Regions from separate parts of the Homo sapiens genome. Here regions 2 and 3 are each linked to region 1. Evidence: promoter capture Hi-C in 16 types of primary human blood cells and fetal thymus (Javierre and others, 2016). All regions are on one chromosome and are shown on one strand. The core of a region is centred on a gene start or on the middle of the fragment in contact, and the rest is flanking DNA. Distances in the headings are between cores, read along the strand shown.

The links. Contacts are between HindIII fragments. The CHiCAGO score rates a contact against its expected background, and 5 or more counts as called.
Region 2: a contact is called between a fragment that was not itself captured here and the fragment with the promoter of CHRNA9 in region 1, in 1 of 17 cell types (M1 macrophages). The highest score is 5.8, in M1 macrophages.
Region 3: the fragment with the promoter of N4BP2 here is called in contact with the fragment with the promoter of CHRNA9 in region 1 in 6 of 17 cell types (naive CD8 T cells, naive CD4 T cells, total CD8 T cells and 3 more); the score reaches 7.5 in naive CD8 T cells.

What each region holds. Positions count from the first base shown.
Region 1 is chr4:40,333,532-40,338,041 of GRCh38, reverse strand. CHRNA9 (cholinergic receptor nicotinic alpha 9 subunit) reads right to left here and starts at 2,709. Exons shown (of 5, transcript NM_017581.4): 1 at 2,511-2,709; 2 at 2,070-2,215; 3 at 678-832. The coding sequence starts at 2,574. The HindIII fragment of the contact is 7,151 bases long and covers 2,332-4,510 here.
Region 2 is chr4:40,024,750-40,029,259 of GRCh38, reverse strand. No RefSeq gene overlaps it. Among named protein-coding and RNA genes, the nearest start is that of N4BP2, 30 kb to the left of the region's middle. The HindIII fragment of the contact is 1,108 bases long and covers 1,309-2,416 here.
Region 3 is chr4:40,055,600-40,060,102 of GRCh38, reverse strand. N4BP2 (NEDD4 binding protein 2) reads right to left here and starts at 3,253. Exons shown (of 18, transcript NM_018177.6): 1 at 3,073-3,253. It also overlaps the pseudogene LOC344967. RefSeq lists enhancers at 2,192-2,291, 2,392-2,441 and silencers at 2,632-2,981, 3,032-3,491, 3,832-4,041. The HindIII fragment of the contact is 12,311 bases long and covers 1-4,503 here.

The DNA of each region.
Region 1 (4,510 bases), core at 1,460-3,959:
CACATATTGAAGTCTTAGCCCCCAACACTCAGAATGTGACTTGATTTGAGAATAGTATCATGAAGATGTAATTAGTTAGGTTAAGATGAAGTCACGCTGGAGTAGGGTGGACATCTAATCCAATATGGCTGGTGTCCTTATAGAAAGGGGAAATTTGGACACAGGGAACACACAGGAGAATGCCATGTGAAGATGAAGGCAGAGCTCAGAGTGACGCTTCTATAATGCCAAGAACACCAAAGACTGCCAGCAAACCACCATTAGCTAGAAGAGAGGCCTGGTACAGATCCTCCCTCACAGCCCTCAGAGGAAACCACGCTGTCAACCCCTTCATCTCAGGCATCTCAACTCCAGAACTGTGAGATAACACATTTTTGTTAAGTCATCTAATCTGTGCTACTCTGTTATGGCAAAGTTAGCCCTAGCAAACTAATGCAGCCTCCACTTTCCCACCTGAAAAAGGGGCATGTAGATGGATGGTTTCTTTCCAGCTCTAAGCTTTTATGACATATTATTTCCTGATCTAAGATTCTATGTCTCTTATTTCAGTAAGTCCTAGGAACATGGATTAATATTTAATTTCATGCATGTTTTAAACATTCCTTTTTCATTATGTTTAAATTCTATGAAATCAACACGTTCATGCCTGAAAAGCCTCAGTTCTGAGCTGCACTTACTTGTTATATAAGACGATGTCTGGCCTCCACACGAGGTCACTGGGGATCCTGATGGAGTCTAGGCCATCGTACTGATCTCGGTCCCACGTGAGATAGGCATCGTGCCAGATTTGGCGGATCCACAAATAAGCAGTCAGAATTTGGTTTCTTTCATCCTACACAATGAATCCAGATGTCGCTTTACCTAGCAGACACTTGAAATGTTTTCCACTGATAGGACACTTGTTCTTCACAATAGGAATTTCACAAACACTCATCAAATTTCAATAAGTAAAGTGAGAGCTTTATTCTTTATTTATTCTATCCCCTTGATTGACTGCCAAGATCATATTTTTTTTCCTCCTAGATTTAGTGTTCAGAATGTAAAGTGGACAAATATTTTAGTATTGATATCTTTGCATAGATCAACTGCCTATATTTCCTGAAAATTGATCAATGAATGATGTACTTGAAAGCAAAAGTCAGGAAATAACAATGTGCAGAAGGAAAATCTTTCAAGTTTCATAACATTGTGTAATTAAACATAGATAAGCACTAATAAGCTATGCCATCTTAAAACACTACCTTTTTTAAAAAATTGAGATTGGCCGGGCGCGGTGGCTCATGCCTGTAATCCCAGCACTTTGGGAGGCCGAGGCGGGCGAATCATGAGGTCAGGAGATTGAGACCATCCTGACTAACACGGTAAAACCCTGTCTCTACTAAAAATACAAAAAAAAAATTAGCCGGGTGTGGTGGCGGGTGCCTGTAGTCTCAGCTACTCAGGAGGCTGAGGCAGGAGAATGGTGTGAACCCAGGAGGCAGAGCTTACAGTGAGCGGAGATCATGCCACTGCACTCCAGCCTGGGTGACAGCAAGACTCCGTCTCAAAAAAAAAATTAAGATCAAATTCACATTAAAACTCACCATTTTAATCATTTTCGAAGGGAACAATGCACCGGCTTCCAATATATTCACAACGTTGTGCAACCATCACCACTGCCTAATTCAAGATCATTTCTTCCCCCCGCAAAGAAACGCCGTAATCATTAAGAACTCACTGGCCGTTTTCCCCGTCCTCCCCACAGACCCCGGCAACCTCTATGCCGTTTTCTGTCTCTACGGATTTACCTCTTTTGGACATTTTATATAAATGGCTGCATACAGTATGTAACCCCATCTTTCTTTAGATTATCTAAGACTGTTACAGTTAATGACCAGGATTAGGTAACGTTTCTTGAAATTAATTAGTTTTGTAGAAAGCTTCCTTTTCCCGACATTCTCTTCTCCCACCAGCTTGCTTAAGGAGCTATCATTCCCTCTCAAATTCCCAGTTAAGACATTCTCTTCAGAAAGCATGGTTGTTTATCCTCTAAGAATCATTCCACAGAGTCAGCACCATGTGTTACTCACCATATCCTTAATCTGAGAGAGCGTAATCTGCAGGGTCACATTCAGGACTTTATCTGTATCTTCCACTGGACGAAGAGCATTAGAATAATCTTCAAAAAGGTCATTAAACAACTTCTGAGCATATTTTCCATCTGCCGTCTCTGCAGCTACTCAACAAGAGGGATCTGGATTAACATTCAGAGTGTTGTGTGTATTTCAAGACAAACAACACAAGACTGAGGTCTAAAATGGGGGATGGCCCAACACTGGCGAGGGACAAGCTTTGGGTGGATGGATGAGTTGTTTTTCTGGCATGCCCTACCAAGATCAGAGTCAGTAGGAAGCACAGAACACTTCCATGCGGTTGAATCATCTGTTTTGTCTTCCCTGTCCTGCCCCACCTCCCACCAAAGCAATAGCCCCAGATGAGACAAGATAGGTTACGTGTCACCAGCCTCTCACCTCTCAGTCTGGAAGCAGCAAAGTAGATCCAGCAAAAGGAGATGCAGGAATGGGACCAGTTCATCTTTTTCCTGAGCCTCTATAATAAAGTCTCAGTCAGGCAGCGTGGTCTTCCACTTCCCCCTATGAATACAAAGGATCTGGGCACAAGGAGCCCACACCGCTGCAGCCTTATGGCGGGAGAGCTCAGGCTTGCATTGCATGCAGGACCGAGATCCTGAGATCCAGGCCTGCCCTCCCTCCCCTCCGGTAATTTGAGACTGGCAGCTCCAGTGGCTGAGAAGCCGGGAACCCAGGGTGTGTTAGGTCCAACAGTGCTGTTGTGGGGGGCCATCTCAGTTGAGGGTCCCTAGCCACCCTCAGCAGAAACAACCAGACAGAAAAGGAGGTAGATGCAGGCAACAGGGGTATGCCTGACACCCCAGAGACTCCATCTAAGCAGAATGGGAGATTTCTACACCCACCATGAGCAGAGTCAGCCTGAGTCCAGGGACTAAGGGAAGCCTAAAAGACTGAGCCATGGGACGGCTGTCCAGAAAGACTCTACGTGCTTTTAGCAGCATTTGAAGAGGGAAAGAGACACGGTTCTATGATCTCCAGAATATATTGGCATTTTGGTTTTTTCTCTGCCTCAGCTTCTGATCCCTCCTGCAGCTGTCCCACTGGGCATGGATCTTGCATAGTAAATGTTTGTGAGTATATATGTGAGGGGGTGTGCTGGATGGGCGGATAATCACTCGCTTAAGAAGCAGCAACACTGTGAGTTGGATTTGGACTTGACCACCTGGGTTTGACTGCCAGCCAAACCCTGACGAGCTCTATTATTCTGTAAAAGTCACCTAACCTCTCTGAGCCTTCCAGAACTACAGACTGGGGAAAATAATATTTTCTCTCTCTAGAGCTACTGAGATAACTGTATGTGAAAGCACTTTCTAAATATCAGTAATTATCATCTTTGATCAGCTTTGCATACCCAGAATTTCTATACTCACCAAGTCACCCAGGATTTACCAGCTCGAAAAAAAAAAAGAAAAACTGGTTCAAAGGCTGACCAAATCAGCATGAGAATAATAACCAATGGTGATATTGCTAATGATGACACCCTTTGCATTTGAATGCTACTTCATATAAAGTTTCAGTCATTTCTCATATGTGATATAATTTTACTCCTATAAAAAAATGTCAATTTTCAATTGCTGCTTAGTCTGGAAACTCATGTCTGTCTCTCCTCTTGCCTGGGGAAACTGCTTTGGAAAACCATATTAAGATAATTTGGTTGCCTGGAATTGGAGCGAGGAAATTGGATAGCTCTGTTTCATCAGGTTACAGCCGCCTGATGAGTCACCCCATCCCTCTTCGGGAATGTATCCTCTGAGTGGAACAGACACTCAAGCCATCGGCAAAGTGTTTCTTAATTGCCTATCCCATTGTGTTGATTGTGAAGACATTATTTTTCTGACGCCCCTAGTCTGACTCATTCATCAAATGACACAATTCCGGGTGCCCACGCTCAGTCCTCCTTCAGCAAACCATCCGCTCCAGAATCTCAGAGGCAGAAGGTAATTTTGAAATTGAGTTTAATGCCTCACTTCTATATGAGGAAACTGAGGCCCAGGGATGCAGAGTGGCTTCCCTCCAGCAGTGATCGGCCAGAGACAGGATCCAGGCCACCTGCCCCAATCCACTGTGCTCCCTGCAACACTAACAATGCATCTCTTCCTTCTCGTTGTCTTTCATCAATATGGCTTTTGATGCCAGCTGGGTGGTGACTTCCTTGTGTGTAGAGGATCTTTACCTCATATGTCTTGGATTCCTTACAGCACTCACAGGGTTGAATTGTAGTTGACACAGGGCCTACCTTGAATGGTGTCCCTTCCCTTCCTATACCACTCCCCTCCCTTCAGGGTCCCTTCTCCCCTCAGGGGCCTCTTTTAGGTTGAAGCTGCTGAGAACCTTTGCCCATTGGGGTCCAGTGTCCTGGGGGGCATCCCTGACTCCAT
Region 2 (4,510 bases), core at 613-3,112, 310 kb after region 1:
AGGTTCACACCATTCTCCTGCCTCAGCCTCCCGAGTAGCTGGGACTACAGGCGCCCGCCACCACGCCTGGCTAATTTTTTGTATTTTTAGTAGAAACGGGGTTTCACCATGTTAGCCAAGATGGTCTTGATCTCCTGACCTCGTGATCTGCCCACCTCAGCCTCCCACATTTTTGTACTTTTAATGAAGGCAGGGTTTCACCACGTTGGCCAGGCTGGTCTTCAACTCCTGACCTCAGGTGATCCACTCACCTCGGCCTCCCAAAGTGCTGGGATTACAGCCATTTGCCACCATGCCCAGCCTTAAAATAGTATTTTAATGCTTTTTTTTTTTTTTTTGAGACAGAATTTTGCTGTTGTTGCCCAGGCTGGAGTGCAATGGCATGATTTCAGCTCACCGCAACCTCTGCCTCCCAGGTTCAAGCAATTATCCTGCCTCAGCCTCCCAAGTAGCTGGGATTACATGCATGTGCCCCCACGCCCAGCTAATTTTTTGTATTTTTAGTAGAGATGGGGTTTCTCCATGTTGGTCAGGCTGGTCTCGAACTCCCAACCTCAGGTGATCCGCCCGCCTTGGCCTCCCAAAGTGCTGGGATTACAGGCGTGAGCCACCACGCCTGGCCAGTGCAATATTTTTAAAAGTCAAAATAGGTGCAGCAAAACCCCATAATGAACAAAATATTGAAATGTTAAATAAAAATTAGATCAGTGCTACTAATTTTTTCTTTTGCCTCAGGCTCCAATATGGTTAGGCACAGCACTACTTGGCACTGCCACTGAGCAAAGAGTATGGGCAGACAGAACTGCTTTCAGAACACTCTTTGTATTTTTTTTGAAATATGTTTGGACAGGAATGATGGAGGGAATTGCTAGAAGTCACCTCCACAGCTTCCAGGATTTAGATGGCTGAGCATTGACCTTTCTAGACTTTTTTTTTTAATTTCCCCAATACAGAATCAGAACAAGAAACAGAAACACAAACGCTATCTTCAATAAAACTAGGAAACATTTATCCCCGCAAACTCACAGCACTTGAAAACAAAAAGCAGATGGAGGAATGGTGACTAAATTAGCAGAGCAGAGGAAGGCCAAGCTTTGTTGGAGAAGACCCACAAAAAGCAAGACAACTCAAGGACTGAAGCCTGGTACTTTGGAAGGCAGTAATAGGAACAGGACACTGAAGACAGTGAGGGGTGTCTGAAGACTGAAAAGCAGCCCTAGAAGCCTTCCCTCACTCCCATCAGTCAGGCAGCCACCCCTTCCCCACTCCCACAAGTACTTTTTCTGGGGAGAAACAATCTGAGAAGCTTAGGGAGCAGCAGGAAGGAAGAGAGATCGGGTGAGAATTCCGTGAAAGTCTACAGGCCGGGTATGGTGGCTCACGGCTGTAATCCCAGCAGTTTGGGAGGCCAAGGCAGGCAGATCACTTGAGGTCAGGAGCTCGAGACCAGCCAGGGCAACATAGTAAAACCTTGTCTCTACTAAAAATACAAAAAATTTAGCAGGCATGGTGGCCGGTGCCTGTAATCTCAGCTACTCAGGAGGCTAAGACAGGAGAATTGCTTGAACCCAGGAGGCAAGAGGTTGCAGTCAGCTGAGATCATGCCACTGTACTGCAGCCTGGGCAACAGAGTGAGACTCCATCTCAAAAAAAAAAAAAAAAAGTCTACAGAGTTTCCAGAGTACTTGCTTTGTTTTCTTTTTCTTTTTTTTTTTTTTTAACAAAAAAAGGGCATCCAGGCATAGAGGCCAAGGTGGGCGGATCACAAGGTCAGGAGTTCAACACAAGCCTGACCAACATGGTAAAACCTCGTCTCTACTAAAAATGTCTAATTTTTATTAGACAGGCATGGTGGTGTGCACCTGTAATCCCAGCTACTCAGGAGGCTGAGGCAGGAGAATCGCTTGAACCCAGGAGGCGGAGGTTGCAGTGAGCCAAGATCGTGCCACTGCACTCCAGCCTGGGCGACAGACAAGACTCCATCTCAGAAAAAAAAATAAGGAAAAAAGTCTACATATTGAACTGTGAAATTCCTCAGTCCAGTGCTACAGAGCCAATAGCCAGGCAGAAGATTAGTTTAGTAGTACTTGCTTTTTTTTTTTTTAACAAAAAAAGGTCTACATATTGAACTGTGAGATTCCTCAGTCCAGTGCTACAAAGCCAATAGCCAAGCAGAAAATTAGTTTTTCTCCAGATAAAGTAAATTGCTACAGAGAAAATACCTACACATACTGTCATTTGGGGTACCACACACATACCTGAACACAAAAGCTGGCTGACTACCTAGGGAATCTAAAAATAAGCTCACAAGTTGACAAGACCTGCCCACTCACACAGAGCTTCCAGTCAGCTATGCAGTGGTTCAGTTAAAAATCTGACCAAATATTCAAGGATCATCAGACCTTTGAGGAAAGCTTTCAACAGTAAAGACAGAGACCGAGCAGGGCATGGTGGTTCACATCTGTAATCCCAGCACTTTGGGAAGCCAAGGCAGGTGGATCACTTGAGGTCAAGAGTTTGAGACCAGCCTGGCCAACATGGTGAAACTCTGTCTCTACTAAAAATACAAAAATTAGCTGAGTGTGGTGGCGCACGCCTGTAATCCCAGCTACTCAGAAGGCTAAGGTGGGAGAGTCGCTTGAACCTGGGAGGCAGAAGTTGCAGTGAGCCGAGATCGTGCCACTGCATTCCAGCCTGGGTGACAGAGCGAGACTCCATCTCAAAATAAAATAAATAAATAGTTTTTAAAAAAATGGTGAATGGTTAAATAGACTGTGGTACATCCATACCATGGAATACCCAGCATTAAAAAAGAACAACCTATTGATACATGCAAAAACTTAGGTGGCTTTCTAGGGCATTATGCAGCCTGAAAAAGCCAGTCTCAAAGGGATACATAAGGCCTGATTCCAGTTATGTAATTTCCTCAAAATGAGCTGGATTGCCTGTTTCTGGATTTACATGATTGATAATTCTACAGGGCATTTAGTTTTAGTTTCCGACAACCATAACACAACTTTCATTCTCTCCTGGAGTCCTCCTTTCTTCTTTCTTTTTTTCTTTTTTGAAACAGAGTCTCACTCTGTCACCCAGGTTAGAGTGCAGTGGCACGATCTCAACTCACTGCAACCTCCATCTCTCAGGTTCAAGCAATTCTCCTGCCTCAGCCTCCCAAGTAGCTGGGATTACAGGCAAGCACCACCATGCCCGGCAATTTTTGTATTTTTAGCAGAGACAGGCTTTCACCATGTTGGACAGGCTGGTCTTGAACTCCTGACCTCCAGTGATCTGCCCGCCTCAGCCTCCCAAAATGCAGGGATTACAGGTATGAGTCACTGTGCCTGGCCAATTTTTTAATTTTTTTGAGACAAAGTCTTGCTCTGTTACCCAGGCTGGAGTGCAGTGGCACGATCACAGTTAACTGCAGCCTCAACCTCCTGGGCTAAAGTGATCCTCCCACCTCAACCTTCCAAGCTGGGACTACAGTTGTGTGTCACTACACCTGGCTAAATTTTTTAATTTTTTGTAGAGGTGAGGGTCTCATTAATGTTGTCTAGGCTGGTCTCAAACTCCTGGGATCAAGGAATCCTCCTACCTTGGCCTCCCAAAGTGCTGGGATTACCAGTGTGAGCCACCATGCCTGGCTGGGTTTTACTCATTTTCTAATTGGTTTTGTTTTTGTTTATTTACTGTTGAGTTGAAAATTCTTCGTATAGTCTAGATATGAGTCCTTTATCAGATATGTGATTGGTAAATCACAACAAAAGTTTTTAATTTTGATGAAGTCCAATTTATCAGTTTTTTTATGGATTGTGCTTTTGGTGTCACATCTAAGAATTCCTCAACAAGGCACAGGTCTTGAAGATTTTCTCCTATGTTTTCTTCTAAAAGCTTATAGTTTTACATTTCACATCTAAATCTATAATCCATTTTGAGGTAATTTTTACATTTTTCCATGTTTGTATAGGTAACTTTAGTCCATTTGACTACTTTTCATATTCCCTTGTATGACAAAGTTACAGTGCATTTATGTTTAGTTTTGTTTTTTGAGATGGAGTCTCGCTCTGTCACACGGGCTGGAATGCAATGGCGCGATCTCGAATCACTGCAACCTCTGCCTCCCAGGTTCAAGTAATTCTTCTGCCTCAGCCTCCAGAGAAGCTGGAATTACAGGCGTGTGCCACCACACCTGGCTAATTTTTTTTGAATTTTTAGTAGAGATGGGATTTCACTATGTTGGCCGGGCTGGTCTCAAATTCCTGACCTCAAGTGATCCACCAACCTTGGCCTCCCAAAGTGTTGGGATTATAGGTGTGAGCCACCGCACTGGCCCTTGCATTTATCTTTTGCTGTCCTGGGGTATAGTCAGTTTTTCCACAAACACTACTGCAGTAATCATCCTTGTTCATTTCATTTGATATTATTTATCAAATAAATACAGGTGCCCACAACCACACCCAGCTAATTTTTGTATTTTTAGTAGAGATGGGGTTTCACCATGTTGGCCAGG
Region 3 (4,503 bases), core at 2,004-4,503, 280 kb after region 1:
CAGCGCCTTGAGAGGCTGAGGCAGGAGGACTGCTTGAGCTCAGGAGTTCGAGAGCAGCCTGAGCAACATAGTGAGACCCTGTCTCTTTAAAAAAAGAAAAAAAAAAAAGAATAAGGTTTTGGGTCACAAAGATCTAAGTTTGACTGAAACCTACCTGATACATACATAACACTCCCACACACTAGTCGGGTAACTTTCAGCAACTTTCTTAATACTTCTCAGTCTCTGTCTCCTCCCCTGTAAGAATAGTGCAAATCTCAGAGTTGTAAGAATTAAATACAATCACATATGCAAAGTGCTTAAAACAGCACCTGGTGTGCATGTGTGTGTACATACACATAAGCCACTTCATTACTATGAGGACGAGGGCAATGAGGTTGATAATGATACATGGCTTGATGTATGCTTACTCATTATCAGGCAAGGTAGGTATCAAAAAAGTGTTCAATCTAAGGCCAGGCGGGGTGGCTCATGTCTGTAATCCTAGCACTTTGGGAGGCCAAAGCGGGCGGATCACTTGAGGCCAGGAGTTACAGACCAGCCTCACCAACATGACAAAAACCCATCCCTACTAAAAATACAGAAGTTAGCCAGGTGTGGTGTTGAGCACCTGTAATCCCAGCTACTCCAGAGGCTGAGACAAGATAGCGCCACTGCACTCCAGCCTGGGCGACAGAGTGAGGCTCTGTCTCAAAATACATACATACATACATACATAAAAAATGCTCAATCTCTTCTTAAATTCCTAACATAAACTACTTCTAAAGGCATTTAATAGACAACTGATTCTTCCCAAGACTTACAATATGATTTTGCATATAAAAAGCTGAAAGGAAAGCAAAGAAGGTAGATAGCTATTTTTCTGAAATTCATTAACTAATAAATGGTTGCTGCTTTGCATATCAAAAAACATGCATAATCATGGCTAATCATGATGAAAAGGGAGATTTTAAAAGGAAAATAATCAGCGTTTTAAAACGGCCGGGCGGGCGTGGTGGTCACTCCTGTAATCCCAGCACTTTGGGAGGCGGAGGCAGTTGGATTGCTTGAGCTCAGGGGTTTGAGACCAGCCTGGGCAACATGGCGAAACCTCCTCTCTACAAAAAATACAAAAATTAGCCGGGCGTAGTGGCTTTCGCCTCTAGTCCCAGCTACTCTAGGGGACGAGGTGGGAGGATGGCTTGAGCCCAGGAGGCAGACGTTGCAGTGAGCTGAGATAGTGCCACTGCACTCCAGCCTTGGCGATACGGCCAGACCTTGTCTCAAAAAAATAAATAAATAAGATGCAACTATGTAACAGTATTTAGATTTAAAATAAATACTAAAAAAAAAACATGCAACTAGTGATAATATTTAGCTTCTACTGTGTACATACAAGATACTATGCCTACTTTAATATACTTTAATGAAGGAAAAAACATGCCTCTACCATAACTTAAGCCCACTTTTTCTATGAAATACAGTACTTCTATCTCCCCTTCAAATTAACTAAAGTCAACAAGTACACAAACTGGCATTCGTACGTACTGCGTGCTGATTTCAACTGCTTTATTCTTTATTGTTTTACAGGTTAGTCTTTTTTCATTAACTAAATTGTAGCCTCCTTGCAAAAGAGCAGCCATTTATTTCCTATTCTTCCCACCATGTCCACCACTACAGCCCCTCGCTCCTACCCCCCATCCTAGCACGGCACTTAAATAATAAAAGGTCCTGGCAGCGAAACTCAAAACTGTTTATTTCTGACCTTTAGCAGTAAACAATGTTAGAAAGGCAGATGGAACCACGTTTATCAAAACACAGAACACACGATGTTTACATTTCCTAAAGCGCGTCTTTTAGTTAAAATTAAAGGATGAGAGTTAAAACGAGTTACAAAAGACAGCTGGTGTTTGAAAGAAAAACACTGGAAGTAATAAAAACGGAGTGAAAAGGCTGATGTTGGGATTAAAAGAAAACATTTTTTTAATACAGCTGCAAATCAGTCATTGTTTTCTGAGAGGCTAGGTTCATCTCCAGGATTTTCTTCTAGGAGCTCAACCAATGGCCACCTTTACTGAGTTAACCAGTCTCCAGGCAAGCAGCCCTTGCTGATTGGCTCAAAGATGTCGAGTAGAAAAAGCAGCCAATCCTGCCTTCAAGCCAGAACTGTGCCATGGAGACATTACAACCACTGCATGGCGAGAATGTGTACAAACCTGTCCGTGCCACAAATATCAGATCCTAGTTACAAAGACTGCCGCCGAAAGGAAGAGCCTTTGAAGCCAACACTGACACTGACCTGTCATCTACATTCTATTACTCTAGCTCTCTTTCGGAGGGAAAAAAAAAACTATTTTAACCAAAAGCGCATGAGAGATAAACTGTGCCCCCGCTAAGATGACTCACTCTATTGAGGATGAATTTCCAAACGGACGGCTTAGAGAGAGTCCCGATGAGAGAGGGGCTCTAGAAGGGTCCCATTGAGGGACAAAGTTGCAGATGGGGGCAGGGGAGGCGGGACGAGGGCCAAAGACACACAAATGCCGGGGAGGGGAAAGTCTCCCCGCAGTCTCCAAAATCCGAACGTGTGAGTGGCTGTGTGTCTGGACTTGAACTGAGTAAATAAACGGCTCTGCTAGGACTATGTGCTCAGGAAGGTGGCCTGAAGTTCCCAGAAGGCTCCGCCTGGCAAACACCTAAGGCGCCTGGAGGGGCGCAAGGTCAGGTCCCGGCGGGAACAGATCTGGGAGGAAACCTCGGGGGGTCGAGAGGGGTGTGTCTGGGGCCTGGAGGCCCGCCAGGCACTCGGAGGCCAAGGAAGCGGCCGCGGCCCCCGCCTTCGCCCGGCCTCGGGCTGAGCGCCAGGGCCCGCCTCTCGCCGACGCCTCACTTCCCTTCCGTCCGGGCAGCCGGGCCCGCGGGTCAGATCGGAGGCGGCCCGCGCCGGGCCCCACATTCAGGGCTTGGGGGTTCATTCGCCGCGCCGCCCGCCGCTGCTTCAGGCCCTCCGCTTCGGCTCGGAGCCCCGGGACCCCTAACCTCCAGGGCCCTCACCTTGGACCCGCCTCCCTGCCTCCCACCCGCCGCCTTTACCTGCTTCTGGAGCGGGCAGAGGGCGTCGAAGCCGGTGCCGCGTCGTCGAACGCACAACGCGGCGCCGCAGGTCCGCAGCCCTTTCCCGCCGGCGCCACTGCGCTCTCCCGCGCCGCGCAAGGCTAGCAAGCAGCTGCGGCCGCGGGGGAGACACGGCGAGCGCGCCCGGCGGGGAGACACTGCCGCTCTCCGTCCGGCCGGGGAAGAGCAGCCGCGCAGAAGCCCGCCGCGAGAGGGCGGGTGGGCGGCCGGGTGGGGAGGGGTCTCGAGGCGCCGGCAATGGCTGCCACGTCGCCCAGGTGGATCGCCGCCCACCGCCCCCCCCCAAGCCCGCCGGCTGTCCGCCACGACCTCTGCTTCGTCCCCGAGCTCCGCCTCGGCGCGGCGGCCCGGGGGACTTGAGCCCGCGGGCGCTCCCACCTCTCCCGCTCCCGCTCTCCCGTTGGAGAGCAAGCCCTGCCCGGCCGGTTCGGCTGCTTCCGGTCGCCCACCCCCCAAGTCTCGCCCGAGAGCGGGCCGTGGTCCCCACTTTTCTTATCAGGGGGTCCCTGGAGGAGCAAGCCCTTCTTCGAGTGTCGGGTTCTGCTTGGGGGGAAGGCGGGAGCTGTTTGGCGCTGGGGAACATTGCAACAGGCCCGGAATTTTTGCCAAAATAAGCGGCGCGGTAAACCACAGCTGTTTCTAGCCCTCGGCACTCTCCCGAGCCCCAAAAAACAAAACAAACACAAGGTCGGCCTCGCGAGGTGAGGGGAGAAAGGAAAGCAGAGCTGGGACGAGCCCTGACGCGCGCGGGGTCCAGGCTGCAAGTTGGGAGGGACGGCGAGGCGAGCGACCGGCCTCGGCATTGCCTGACTAGGGCCGTGGCCGCTGCGGCGGGCACGGGAACCCGCCTTCTCGCGCGCGGCCCTCCCGCGGGGGGCTTCCGGGCGCGCGGCCTCGGAGCCCCACGGGGAGACAAAGGGGTAGGCGACTGCCACGGGGTGGAGGGAGGCTGCCCAGCCCCATCGGCCCTGCCAGCGTGCGGTCTGAGCTCGGGGAATGTGTGCGCCTTAGCCGGTGGAACCGCAGCCGCTGGCCTTTGCCCCCAGTTCGAGCTTGAGTTTTCGGATGCCAAGAAAAAGCAAAGACGTGCTCTTCCCTCTTGCGACCGCTGTAGTATGAGTCCGTCCCCAAGCCTGCACCATTTTTTTTCTCTCAACTCTGCTTTCCCTGGTTTATTTGTTCTGGGTTCTGATGTGAAATGTTTAGTGTTTTCAGGGTACGCAAATTTTTCACCTTTGCTTTCTGGTTGGTGGTGGTGGTGGTGATGGTAGTGGTGGTGGTTTTGCCTGTTTTTTACTTCCTCCGTCCCCTCCCTTTGCGGTTACTTTTCATTCCACTTGCAGTGGTTTTTCCCAGAATAGAGAAGCGAAATAACCTCATGACAAAGTG